Linked DNA regions of Homo sapiens: region 2 is linked to region 1. The links are contacts of gene promoters, found by promoter capture Hi-C in human tissues and cell types (Jung and others, 2019). All regions are on one chromosome and are shown on one strand. Each heading gives the region's core, a stretch centred on a gene start or on the middle of the fragment in contact. The rest is flanking DNA. Distances are from core to core; before and after follow the strand shown.

Region 1 (6,652 bases), core at 1-2,500:
TTGCAAAAAGAATGGAATTCCAGTTCTATTCTACAATGGCATCAATACTGCAATACTTTCATCAAGTTATATAAAGAAAAACCAAGAACATTGGAATAAGAGGAACAGGAGCTTCCCCCATCTTGTCATGTTCAAGTAGTTTGTGTCTGCTCCCCTAGCCACCAACAGTTTTAGCTATGCTATCCCAAGGGCAAGTGCAAGCCTGTCATCCAAGCGTGTAATTCTTGACCCAGGCTGGCCATCTCGGTTGTGGCTTGCAAGTCCCGCTGGCATGTGATTTCCCAAAGGAGCCAGTCTTAGTCCGTAACCCCTTACCCTGTTCATTGTGGAAGTCCGGGGGCCCAAGGGCAGAAAGGGCTGCAGGGATAGCCTCATCAGAGGGCACTCAGGCAATGGAAGAGATGTGGCTGTGTTTCTGCTCTCTGCAGAAGAGAGTCCTGGAGGAGGGCCAGCAGCTGCCCCGGGTGCTGGGGAGACAGCAGAAGAGGGTGGACATCAGCAGGGCCAGGGCGATGATGAAGGTGAGCACCCATCGTAAGACACCCGGGTAGATGAAGGGCCCGATGAGGATAATGAGCAAGGCCAGCAGGAGTAGGTGCGCGGCCAGGCGCCGGGCTGCCACGTGGTTTGCACTTACTTCATCCTGTCCATCCTCTCCCACCAAGCTGGGGTGTCCTGCTGCCAAGTCAGCAGGATCCACCAGCCCCTGAGGACAGAGCGATACCTCTGTGCATGGCTGGGCCAGCTGCCCCACCACCGCCTCATGGTCGCGCAGGCTGCAGATGAGGCCCCCGGGGACGGCGGTGACCTTGCGGCACAGCGGGCAGGTGATGGACCAGGTGTTGTCCTGCACGCACAGCAGGAGCTTCAGGCAGATGGCGCAGAAGGCATGCTGGCAGGCCAGCAGCTTGGGCAACCGGGGACAGCTGTAGGGCTCCCGGCACACCAGACACTCCAGGTCACATTCTGTGGAGCCAGAATGACCCCCAGCAGGGGCCACAGCGGTGGTGGTTGTGGTGGCTCCTGCGGAGATGGGCTGGGACTGTTGCAGGGTCTTGGTGCAGGCCATTCTGGGCACAGGGACCGGTGGGACACTGTCGCTCAGCACCTGGGCATTGGCAGAGAGTGTCAGCTGGCGCCGCTGGGACTTGGATGGAATCTGCCCCTCCTTTTCACTCTGGCCAGGTGCCTGTTGACAACAGCTGTCTGACACTCCTCTCTCCCAGAGCTGCCCAGCTTGTTTCTTGGCTTACGTCGTCCCTTCAGTTATTATTATTTATTTTCTCAAAACCTAGGGTTAATCAGTAACTTGCGGGTCTGGAGACTTTGAATTGCCTGATAGGAGGGCAAAGTGGGCAAGGGTCTAGTGAATCAGGACTTTCCTGTTGGGGCCAGGTACCTGGTGGGTGCCCACAGAACTGTGGCTCAAGCTTTAGGAGGCAGCAGAATCCAACTCTCTCACCCCCACTTCCCAGGTCCCTGAACCTTTTATTAATTTTTTTTATTTAACTTTTTTTTTTTTTTTTGAGACGGAGTCTCGTTCTCTCAGGTTGGAGTGCAGTGGCCCGATCTTGGCTCACTGGCATCTACAAATCTGCACAATAAACAGACAGCCCTATGAGTCGGACATAGGTGGATTGGTGGACACTGCTTTCTCAGACACAAACTTTTGGATGTCAGGATGAGTGGAAAAAAGTTTGTTTGCACTTGGAGCACATTTACAGGCAGGTGGCCTTGGAAAGAGGAGGGGAGAGGTAAGAAAAGTGAGTGGAAGGAGGACAAAGCCCAACCCAACGCAGAAAAACAAAACCACATACAGCGCACAGGTGTTTGGCACCTGCTACTGTATTCATTTCCTTAGAGCCACAGCTGTTGTATTCACAGTTACGGGTGTATGAACTTCCCATCGGTGCCCTGCTGCACACTTCACATGCCTAATCACAGGTGTCCTGTTTTGTGCTAGGCATGCTGCGTATCCAGTAGTACTAAGAACAGCTGCCATTTATTTGGGCCTACTCTAAGCCAAGCCCTGTGCCCGGGGTCCCCAGCCCCCATTTCCCGGAACCCTGATACAGCCTTGTAGGGAAGGCTGGGAAACAAGGGCAGGGTGTGGTCAGGGTAGGCTGCTGGCTGCCTGCCAAGGGGCCTTCCATGGAGCAGGACCTTGTGGAATCTACCAGCGTCCAAGGTCTGGTTGAATCAATTTCATTGGTTCATTTGGACACAACTGGCCCCAGCCGGGTGGCGTAGGCTAAGAGGACTCATGTGAGACAGGCAGATATTAGTAACACAGCAGTTAGGAAAACGTGATTTCCTTACTTTGCCCTCAAGGGCAAATGGCGGGGTGGCATGTGCACTCCCTCAAACAAATGTTTCATTCAGGCCACTCTGAACTCAGAAGCCCGTGTGAAGGATCCTTTGGTGCTCATGTCACCTGCCAAGGGCCACACAGAGTCCTGTGCCTCTGATTCAGCTCTTTCCCTTACCCCAGTAGCTGGCACTGCAGGCCACCCTCTGTGTCCTGGAGTCACCAGCCCCAAAGGGGCTCCCTCCCTTGTGGGATCGGTAACTCCCACCTCCCCACTCCCCCTGGGCCCTCTATCTCTGAAATCCAATACTCTCACCATCCCATCCCATTTCTTCTCAACCTGTAGCTAGACCATCAGTTACCTCTGTGAAAGGAAAATAAATCGTGGGGCCCCAAAATCACTAAGCCACAAGGGAAAGTCAAGCTGGAAACTGCTTAGGGCCAGCCTGCCTCCCATTCTATTCAAAGTCACCTCTCTGCTCACTGAGACAAATGCATATCTGATTGCCTCCTTTGGAGATGCTAATCAGAAACTCAAAAGAATGTAACCATTCTTATCCACCTGTGACCTGGAAGCCCCTTCCCCACTTCAGGTCTTCCTGCCTTTGCTTCAAGTTGCTCCACCTTTTCAGATGGAACCAATGTTCATTTTACATATGTTGATTGATGTCTCATGTCCCTCTAAAACGTATAAAACCAAGCTGTGCTCTGTCCACCTTGGGCACATGTCATCAGGACCTCCTGAGGCTGTGTCACGGACATGTGTCCTCAACCTTGGCAAAATAAACTTTCTAAATTAACTGAGACCTGTCTCAGATACTAAGGTATAGATACACATCTATATCACGTTTTCCCCCAGATCAAGCTGAAGGTGGCCTTGGATCTAGGCATGTTTTTTCCCCCATGCCTAGCATTCTTTCCCCTTTTTTGGGTAACAGTTCTCTGTTTTCACTTTGGGCAACCACTGCTTCCCACCGTCATTCTGTGCTCACGGAGAGGGTGATGTCTGGCTCCAGCTCTCTGGAAGTGGGGCCCTGATACAATTCAGGACAGGCCAGTTAGCATGCTCTGCTCTGCTAGCTGCAGCCATTGGTTTGAGCGTAGGCATATAATCGAAGCCAAGCCAATGAGATTCAATTCTGAGACTTCTGTTGGAGCCCTTGAGAAGTTTCTCTTTGTGCTGGGTTTCTAAGTTAGAGGATGGAACCCTGGGGCTGCCAGGACCACAGTGTGCAGAGAACCTGCTCAAGAGTAAGGTCAGCACAAAAGAAAAATGAGAAAAGAATCAGACAAAGGCCTGATGATGTTATTTGAACACCTGAAGCAGGACACCTAGCATTGGATTTTTTCAAGGATATTAACCTATAAAATCTACCCTGATTTTTATTCTTAAGTCAGTTCAAATTGAACTTCTGTCCCTTGCAAGTGAAAGACCTCTATGTAACACAGCAATGGATGAAGAAAAGAAGCCTTTACTTGCTCTCTGACAAAGGGTCAGGCATTGATGAGACAACCAGACTTTGTACACGGACAAGAGTGACCGAATGCCTGTGTGTTACCATGCTAGAAGAGATTCTGTGTTTTCTCTGCTTGGACTTGCATTGCATAATGTTATTTTCTGTTTGTGAGACCCTAGGATGGATTAGGGATGAGAGGAGAAAAATGTGTTGAGCCACATTCATTTATAATAAGAATAGAAAATCAGGTGGGCCACACAGTGATGTTGGCTTGGCCAGTGTCCCTCTCACTTTTTTTTGAGATAGAGTCTCGCTCTGTCTTGCCCAGGCTGGAGTGCGACCTCTGCCTCCCGGGCTCAAGCGATTCTCTTGTCTCAGCCTCCTGAGTAGCTGGGACTACAGGCGTGTGCCACCACACCCGGCTAATATTGTATTTTTAGTGGAGATGGGCTTTCACTATGTTGGCCAGATCGGTCTCAAACTCCTGACCTCAGGTGATTCACCTGCCTCAGCCTCCCAAAATGCTAGGATTACAGGCATGAGCCGCTTCACCCAGCCGGCCAGTGCCTCTCTCTCTAGCCAGCTTAATGGGAAATCAAATTGTCAGAAGGTAGCTGAGTGAGGTTGAAATCAGACCAAGGGAAGTTATTTGGGGTTAGAGCCTAAAAAATAACCTTTTAACATCATTGGGCAACCACCGTTAAGAAAACATATTGGCTGGAACAACCCAAGTATTACAGAAATAAAGTAGAATGTGAAAGTTCATCTTACTGCAACCCCTGAGAAATGACCACTGTTAACAGAGCATTCCTTCCTGTTGTCCTCCTCCTACCATCTTGGCTTAGGAACAACTTTGTTTCTCAAAAGTGCCTTGCCTTAACTATCACCAGCACTGACTATAGCTGGAAATCTGGCTCCTGTCACTTTACCAGCTATGTGACCTTGGGCAAGAATTTTAACTTCACTGCAGTTCAGTTTTAAAATTTGATAAAATGGAGGCCGGGCACAGTGACTCAAGCCTGTAATCCCAGCACTTTGGGAAGCAGAGGTGGGTGGATCGCTTGAGCTCAGGAGTTCGAGACCGGCCTGGGCAATGAGGTGCAACCCTATCTCTACTAAAAATACAAAAAATAGCTGGGCCTGGTGGTGCATACCTGTAGCCCCAGCTACTTGGGAGGCCGAGGCAGGAGGATAGCTTGAGCCTGGGAGGTCGCAGTTGCGTGAGCCAAGATCGTGCCACTGCACTCCAGCCTGGGTGACAGAGTGACACTCTGTATTTAAAAAAAAGTAAATAAAATAAAATAAAACAAAATGGAGACGTTAACACTTGAGGAAATTATGGATTATTTAAGCCCTCCACCCCTGACTACAACCTGCTCACAGGAGGCTTAGTAATTTATGTACTTTGGGTTGTAACTGACCTAGGTGAAATTGATCTCTTCCAGGGACATGAGATAAGACACTTTGGTGACTGATTCGGCCAATGCTTCTTGAAGAGGAGTGAATATGGGCAGAGTCTGAGGTGGAGCCTGAAGCAGATCTACCCCAGGGGAATTCAAAAGTGTCTCCGGAGACTTAAAATGTTAAATTCATCTAGGTTTCACATTCTTCTCCATGTTCTATTTGTGCTTACTGCAACATTAGAATCCCGAAGCATGCACGAATCCTTCCAAATCTCCAAATAAAACATATTTGTTTGTTTTAATTGCTGTACAAATATGAACTCATTAATCTTGAGTAAAGCTTTTTTTTCTTTTTTCATTTGAAATGCAGTTTCTTCCATCTTATGGCTTCTCACAGCCCTGGGGTCATACGCACTCCATCGTGAGAAACACAGTCTCATGTTGGGGTGAAATTTCAAGCCTAGCTGCAGGCTGGGGAGCCGGAGCCAGTCCAGTTGAGGAAGATCATGTTGGAAATCACATGTGCAAGGAACCACACACCCATGTACCTTTGCAAAAACATGTCTGATCTGAATTTTAGGCCTCCCGTCAAGTCAGAAAGGAGTCAGGTGGCAGCACTGTTCTGAGATCAAACTGTCCACTCATCTTTGGCCTCTGTCCTGATCAGCTGACCCTCACCCCACACTCCAGTGAACACAGGGAGCCAGGTCCCAGCCAAACGCCGAGTTGCTCTCCACTCCTCCTTGCCTTGGGCTGAATGGAAACCATCTCAGCTCACACTCTTGTCCCAGAATTCTCGCCTCTGTGCTCCTTAGAGCATGGCAGGCTCCATCCCTATTTTCAGCCCCCCACCCCCACCCCCACCCCTCACCAAGAATCTGCGTGTCTGAGGATAGATTGCCAAGGAGACAGAAGAAAGGGATCTGGAACCAAAATAACAATAATGAGAAAATTATGACTGTATAGAGAGAAAGACAATGTAACAGAGATAGTGAATGCCTCGGGCACAAACTGCAGGAAGTTGGAAAACTACACTGTCTTTTTTTTTTTTTTTTTTGAGATGGAGGGCACTCACTGGGCTAGAGCTCTGAACTCACCACCGACAGGCAGTCAGTGGCCAAGTCGCTTAACCTCTCTAGGCCTCAGTTCTCTCCGTCTGTGAAATGGACACCTGCCCTGTCTCCTTACTGAGGAGCCAATGAAATGACAGAGGCTTGTGAATGGGGCAGGGGGGCCATTACTACTACTGACCTCACTCCCTGGACTCAAATCTTCCGTCTTTTTTTTTTTTTTTTTTTGAGATGCAGTTTTGCTCTTGTTGCCCAGGCTGGAGTGCAATGGTGCAATCTTGGCTCACTGCAACCTCCGCCTCACGGGTTCAAGAGATTCTCCTGCCTCAGCCGCTTGAGTACCTGGGACTACAGGCATGTGCCACCATGCCCAGCTAATTTTTTTTTGTATTTTTAGTGGAGACGGTGTTTCAC
Region 2 (6,436 bases), core at 3,461-5,960, 73 kb after region 1:
GTACGTTTTTGCTGAATGAAATATAAAAATAATAGAGGGAGGTCAGCTAGCCTAAGCATAAGCCCAAGACACCCTTATAGAAACAGAAATACCAATTGAATACAGTGGAATTGGCGTGGGACATTGGGGCTTTTCCTTGCAAATGATTGGATTGCTTGTGTCTGCTATACTGGGTATGGTATTCTCAATGTCAGGGTGCCCAGGAAACTGAAGTACTCAATAGAAGGTTACTTATGAGGAGGAATTAGCACAGGGAGTTGTAAACTCTTGAGGGGGCTTTCATAAGGTTATGGGAAACTTTGGGGGTACTACTTCTGCTCCCTATCCCCACACCCCCATACACACACAGCATACTTTTCAAGTTAATTCAGCACACCTTAAGTAGGGTGCTGGGAATATGTTGATGACTAAGATACTTAAGGACTTCATAGCCTAAGGTAGAAACACGTAACAGTGGGTCTCAGCTTTTTTGGTCTTAAGATCTCTTGGCATTCTTAAAAATTACTGAGAAACCGAAAGAACTTTATATGGGTTATAGCTATGAGTATTTACTGTATTAGAAAGTAAAACAAAGTTAAAACACAAGAATACACACACATTCCATTAGCTATCAGAGTGATGACTTCATGCATCAGGTAGCCTCTGGAAAACTCCACTGCACTTGTGAGAGAATGAGAATGAAAAAGGTACATTACATCTTAGTTTTGAACTCACGGATACCCTGAAAGCATATCAGAGACCTTCCCACATCTCCGGTCCCTTGAGTCACACTTTGAGAACAGATGATACAAATAATTAAAATATAGTTTGATATATTTTTAGTAACAGTGACTGATTATAATGGTACTATTGAGAAGGAAAAGGCTACTACTCTATGAATTGGCCAGGAAGTCCTTCTCGTTCATTCGGTAAATACTCATTGGATACACTGCTAGATGCCTCTCAGAGGGTGTCATGCTCTGATTGGGTCATGAAGGACCAATAGGAGTACACCAAGAGAACGGTCCCATCTGAGAAGGAGTATATATAGAGGCACAAGGACACGATGTTTTTGGGAGATCTACAGGTTGTTTAGGGTGACGGGTAGTGTAGGGCACAAGGGTAGAAGTAACGGGCAGTGAAGCTAGGCTCCAGAAACCAGCTTGACTGGAGTGCTCATGTCTCTCTTCCAAGGTTCCTGTTATTCGGACAGTGTTAGATAAAATGATCGTATTTCCTCTTGTGTGGGCTTCATGGAGCTAACCACCTTCTGTTCACAAGTTCTTCACATGAGTTCCATTAGCTGGACTGTGGTTCAGCCCTCGTCAGTATCCTAGTCCTTTCGAATGTGGTGATGACAGACTTTATCACTGCAGGGGATGGTGTTTCCTGTGTATGTGATGGGTTGGCAGGTGTCAACAGATTCTTCTACCCCCCTCAGACGGAGTCTTACTCTGCCACCCAGGCTGGAGTGCAGTGGCACAATCTTGGCTCACTGCAATCTCTGCCTCCTGGGTTCAAACAATTCTCTTGCCTCAGCCTCCTGAGTAGCTGGGATTACAGGCACCTGCTACCACAGCCAGCTAATTTGTTTGTATTTTTAGTAGAGATGGGGTTTCACCATGTTGGCCAGGCTGGTCTCGAACTCCTGACCTCATGATCCATCCGCCTTGGCCTCCCAAAGTGGTGGAATTACAGGTGTGAGCCACCGCGCCTGGACAACGGATTCTTTTATTAATGTTTATTAAGGACTCAGGTGAAATATAATGAAGTTAAAGACTATTAAAAAATAGTTGACATCTCTAGCGTTCCCTGTTTTCATTCAGATTTGATTACAATCTGGAGTAGCCTGATACAGTATCTATGAGCATGTTCATTGTTGGCAATATGGTACCTGTAGCATTCTGGAACCTGAGGGGGTTTAGGGATGAATTAACCAATATCCTGTAATACAGCCTTTACATGGGTTGAGTCAGCTTAGTGTAGATTAATCAGGGAGCTACTTAGAGGGTTTTGTAATGCTTCCTGGACCAGCTTCATATTTCACGTGTTGTCTGGAAGGTGGACCCACATAAATTGGATTCATTTTTCAAAGCAAGAAAGAAATAGTTTAACCTTGATGTTTTCCTTAAAAACATGATTGGCTATAGTGTGAAAAGAATGTATAACTCTATTTATTAGGCAGTACAATATTAACATCCCTCTGAACTTATCTAGTTGGGTCTTACTAAATGTAGTTCTGAGTTACATTACTCATTAGCAGTGTTCTAAAATTGAAACATTGAAGAATCACTAATTTTAGCTGTTTATCTTATTACTAACAAGTAGTTTATTTTTTAGTTTTGTTTTTAATATTGCAGGATCACAGTAGTAGAAGGGCATTCACACATCATCTTGTCTAATTATTGCCTGTGTCACCTGAACAGCAGTGCCATCTTTTGTGCCTCACTCAGTGGTTTTCAGTTGGGTGCCATACTAGAATATCTGGGGAGGAACTTTTGAAACAATTCAGGGCCTGGGCTCTCCCCTAGATCAACTACATCAGAATCTTAGAGTGGGGCCTGGTTATTGATGTTTTTTAAAAAAAAATTTACAGATGATTCTTATATGCATCCATAATTGAGAGTGACTGATTTAGAGTCTAGATGCTCAACTAGTGTTTCTCAAACTTCAGTATGCAACATAACCACCTGGACTGCTAGTGAAAACACCTGGAAGGGCTACGTTGCTGGGCCCCAACCCCAGAATGCCTGATTGAGTAGGCCTGGGTGGGCCCCAGCATTTTCATTTCTAACAACTGCCCAGGGGATGCTGATGCTCCTAGTCCGGGAACACACTTTGAGAATCAGTGATCTAGATCAGCGCTGTCCAGGGGAAATAGAATGTGAACCACGTATGTGATTTAAAATTTTTCTAGTAACTACATTAAAAAGAAACAGGTGAAACTAATTTTAGTATATTTTATTTAAGCTATTGTATCTAAAATACTATTTTGACATACAATTCAATATAAAAATTATTGATCTCTCATATTTTCTTTTTCTTTTTCTTTTTTTTTTTTTTTTGGAGACATTAGAGTTTGTTGTTGTTGCCCAGGCTGGAGTGCAATGGCACGATCTTGGCTCACTGGAACCTCTGCCTCCCAGGTTCAAGCGATTCTCCTGCCTCGGCCTCCTGTGTAGCTGGGATTACAGGCATGCGCCACCATACCTGGCTAATTTTGTATTTTTAGTAGAGACGGGGTATCTCCGTGTTGGTCAGGCTGGTTTCAAACTGCTGACCTCAGGTGATCCGCCTGCCTTGGCTTCCCAAAGTGCTGGGATTACAGGCATGAGCCACCGCACCCGGCTGATGATCTCTCATATTTTCTTATATGACCGCTTCAGAATCTAGTATTTTACACTGATAGCACACCTCACTGTGGATTAGCCACATCAGATGCTCAGTAGTCACATGCGGTTAGCAACCACTATTAAACAACACACATCTAGACAATTGCTGTGAATTGCTAGTTATAGAAATTGGCAGAATCCTGAGTCTATATAGTCTACCTCCGTAGAGCTAAGGTGAAATTACCTTTTATTTGCCAAAATCTATGTCTCTGTGGCTTCCAGGTTTTCGTTTTATTATACAGGTATAATTTTAATTTCACATGACAGTTGGAGGTATTGATCACGTCCCCCTGAGCCTTCTTTAGGCCAAACATCACTAGTAGTTCTTCATATTGTATTAAAGCCACATCATTTATCTGAATACGTCTCTCTTAAAATACAGTAACTAGAATGGTACCCAGTACCCTATCTGGTCTGACCCCAAATAATAAAACCTTTTCCTTTTTCTGCACATTTACTATTATTACTGCAGTCTAGAGAGCACGTTAGGTTTTTTGGTGCGTGTGTTGCAATATTGTCTAATAGTAAATTATTGCGCACTCAAAACATTTGCGTGCTCTTTATGTAATTGGTTGTTTTTGTGAACTCAAATGCGAGACCTGCCATATATCCCTATAACACAGTGGTTCTCAAGCAGGGATGATTTTGCCCTCCAGGGGACATTTGGCAATGTCTAGAGACATCTTTGGTTGTCACAACTGATGGGGAGGGAGGTAGTGATGTGCTACTGACAGCTAATGGCAGAGGCCAAGTATTCTCCTAAACTTCCTACAGTGCACAGGACAGCCTCCCACAACAAAAAAATGATCCTGGAATGTCAATAATGTGGAGATTGAGAAGCCCTGCTATAGGTAATGGTGAGAGTGTGAACTCAGGAAGTGGCCCAGATCTCCTAGAGGCCCTTTGGGCAGCGGTGCTTTGTTCTCATGAGTTTCTTGAGTGCTCTTATTGGGCTCACCTAAGGAAACCCAGGTCACTGGAGTGTTTGTTCATTACCTTGTAATCCTGTCAGAAAAGGAAGTGATTTGTCTATTTTGGCTTGTTTTGGGTGAGCTCAAAGAAAGTTTGGTAAGTAATGAAAAGCATATTAAAAAATGTAACAATTAAAACTCTTAAATATTATTTTTAATTCTGCTGCCTAGGGGTAACTATGGCTATCATTTTGGTGTTGACATTCGAGCGAGAGCCACGTTATTTGGACTTGGATCCTGGGCCTACCACTTACTAGTTTTGTGACCTTGGGCAGGTTTCCCCTGAGGGATGGTAATAGGACCTATCTCAGAGTTGTGAGACACAACATGTTTAATACATATAAAGTGTTTAGGACAGTCCCTGGCACATTGTAAGAACTATTTAAGTGGTTGTTTCTGTGTGTTTTCTTGGCATACGTTTGTGTGTGTTTCTGTGTCTGTGTATGTGTATAGTGTACAGATGAACTTGGTTGAGTTCATGTGGCATATACAGTTCTACACCTACTTTTTTGGAGAACATTTGCTCATGTTATTAAAAGTTCCTAGCAAACATGTAACTGTAGAATACCATGAATTTTGGTACATTAAATGTAAAATAACTACATAAATTTGTGATAAATCACATCTCTTAAACTAAATTCAAGAATAGGCTAGTGGTGGCAGATGCTGATTAAGAAAAGTTTGAGGGAAAAGCTTGACATTTAAATTGTTTTATCGATTAACTTACTTTTCTCCATGGTTGAAAAAAGACTGCCATTGTCAGATTTTAGCAAGACACCTCAGTCTAGCCTACAGAACTCTATATTCCACTCCTTCTAGAATCTTGTCTTAGATTGTTGGAAAGCTTCTTGGTTTTTAATTTATAGAAGCTGTCTTAATTCTCCCCTCCCCTGCAAAAAAAAAAAAAGTATATATTCTTATACATTAGAAGAGATTCCAGCCTTTCTATAGCTTTCTGTTGAAAATTCACTTTTCTGAGTTGAAAAACAAAACCCCCTTTTTTCCTACACATTTAGACATGAAATCTTTCTGAAAGTGATGAGTTTATACTTTGGAATTACAGTATCATAGTTTTTCATTTGGAAGAGTAAACAGTTGGGTGTAAAACTGGACAACTGTTTGGCTTCAGAATTGTTTATTTCTGTAGTTTTAAGGATACCAGATTGTGTTTGTCTTGTTTGAGTCTCTGTGTATCTAAGCCTCTGTGTTTGTGATAGTTCGGAATTTAGAAGCCTTTGAGGGGTTTGAAAGTAAAGATAACTCTTACAGTTTATTACCAGTATTTTAATTTTAGAGAAACAAAATGTGGTGTTTAAAGTTTTCATTTGGCAGGAATAACAATGGCATTGTTGCTCCCTGGGTGCTAAGTGAGGAGGCAAGGAGGAAGTGTCTTTCCATAGTACAACTGTTTGTTGTCCAAGTGCTTTCCTTCTCATGACTTTCTCCACTATGTTCTTAGGACTCAAACAGAGTATTGTTCAGTTGTTAGTATTGGCAGCTTGACAAATTGCTATTTTTTGGGTACTATTTGTTAAATGAATGATTACTTAGCTGGGTAGCTGTAGTGGAACTTGTTTTAGAAAAGAGGCTGTAGATAGGACATGATTTTGGAAGAGGATCTGTAAATCATAGCCCTTAGGCATGGAATGGCCTATAAGGTCTGGACCTTGTAGTAAGGTGGTTAGTGTATCACCGGCTCCACTTGTTGAAGCAGCTGAGGCCCAGGGAAGTTTGATGACTCTCCTGAGTCAGCCAGCTGGTACATGGGGAATAGAATCCTTGTTTGCTGCCTCTCAAGAAGGTAATATGGTTGAATATGCCCTCATGCTGTCCCCCGTGGTCTTGGAAGAATCCTGGACTATTAGAGTTGAGTCTTTACCTCTGTGTGCACAAAATATTTCCATGGATGATCTGGCATGAAGCATCATTGTTTTAGACGAACTAAGTTCATTTTTGAAAGGTCTTGACTCGTGTTGTTGTTTTGACAGCAATTGCTTGTTCAGAGCTCTTGGTGATCAATTGGAGGGACACTCACGAAATCATCTCAAGCACAGACAGGAGACAGTGGACTACATGATAAAGCAGCGGGAAGAT

The links. The method cuts DNA at HindIII sites, captures the fragments that hold promoters and counts their contacts. A contact is called where the count stands out against the background at its distance.
Region 2: a contact is called between a fragment that was not itself captured here and the fragment with the promoter of RNF186 in region 1, in 2 of the 25 tissues and cell types used here (mesenchymal stem cells and pancreas).

What each region holds. Positions count from the first base shown.
Region 1 is chr1:19,814,033-19,820,684 of GRCh38, forward strand. It overlaps RNF186 (ring finger protein 186), which reads right to left and starts at 1,251. Exons shown (of 1, transcript NM_019062.2): 1 at 1-1,251. The coding sequence starts at 1,069. The coding sequence ends at 386. It overlaps RNF186-AS1 (RNF186 antisense RNA 1), which reads left to right and starts at 377. Exons shown (of 2, transcript NR_186008.1): 1 at 377-521; 2 at 5,211-5,470. RefSeq lists an enhancer at 2,712-3,243. The HindIII fragment of the contact is 3,016 bases long and covers 454-3,469 here.
Region 2 is chr1:19,884,055-19,890,490 of GRCh38, forward strand. It overlaps OTUD3 (OTU deubiquitinase 3), which reads left to right. Exons shown (of 8, transcript NM_015207.2): 2 at 6,331-6,436. It overlaps LOC105376823 (a long non-coding RNA gene), which reads right to left and starts at 5,110. Exons shown (of 3, transcript XR_947028.3): 1 at 5,070-5,110. The HindIII fragment of the contact is 5,133 bases long and covers 2,145-6,436 here.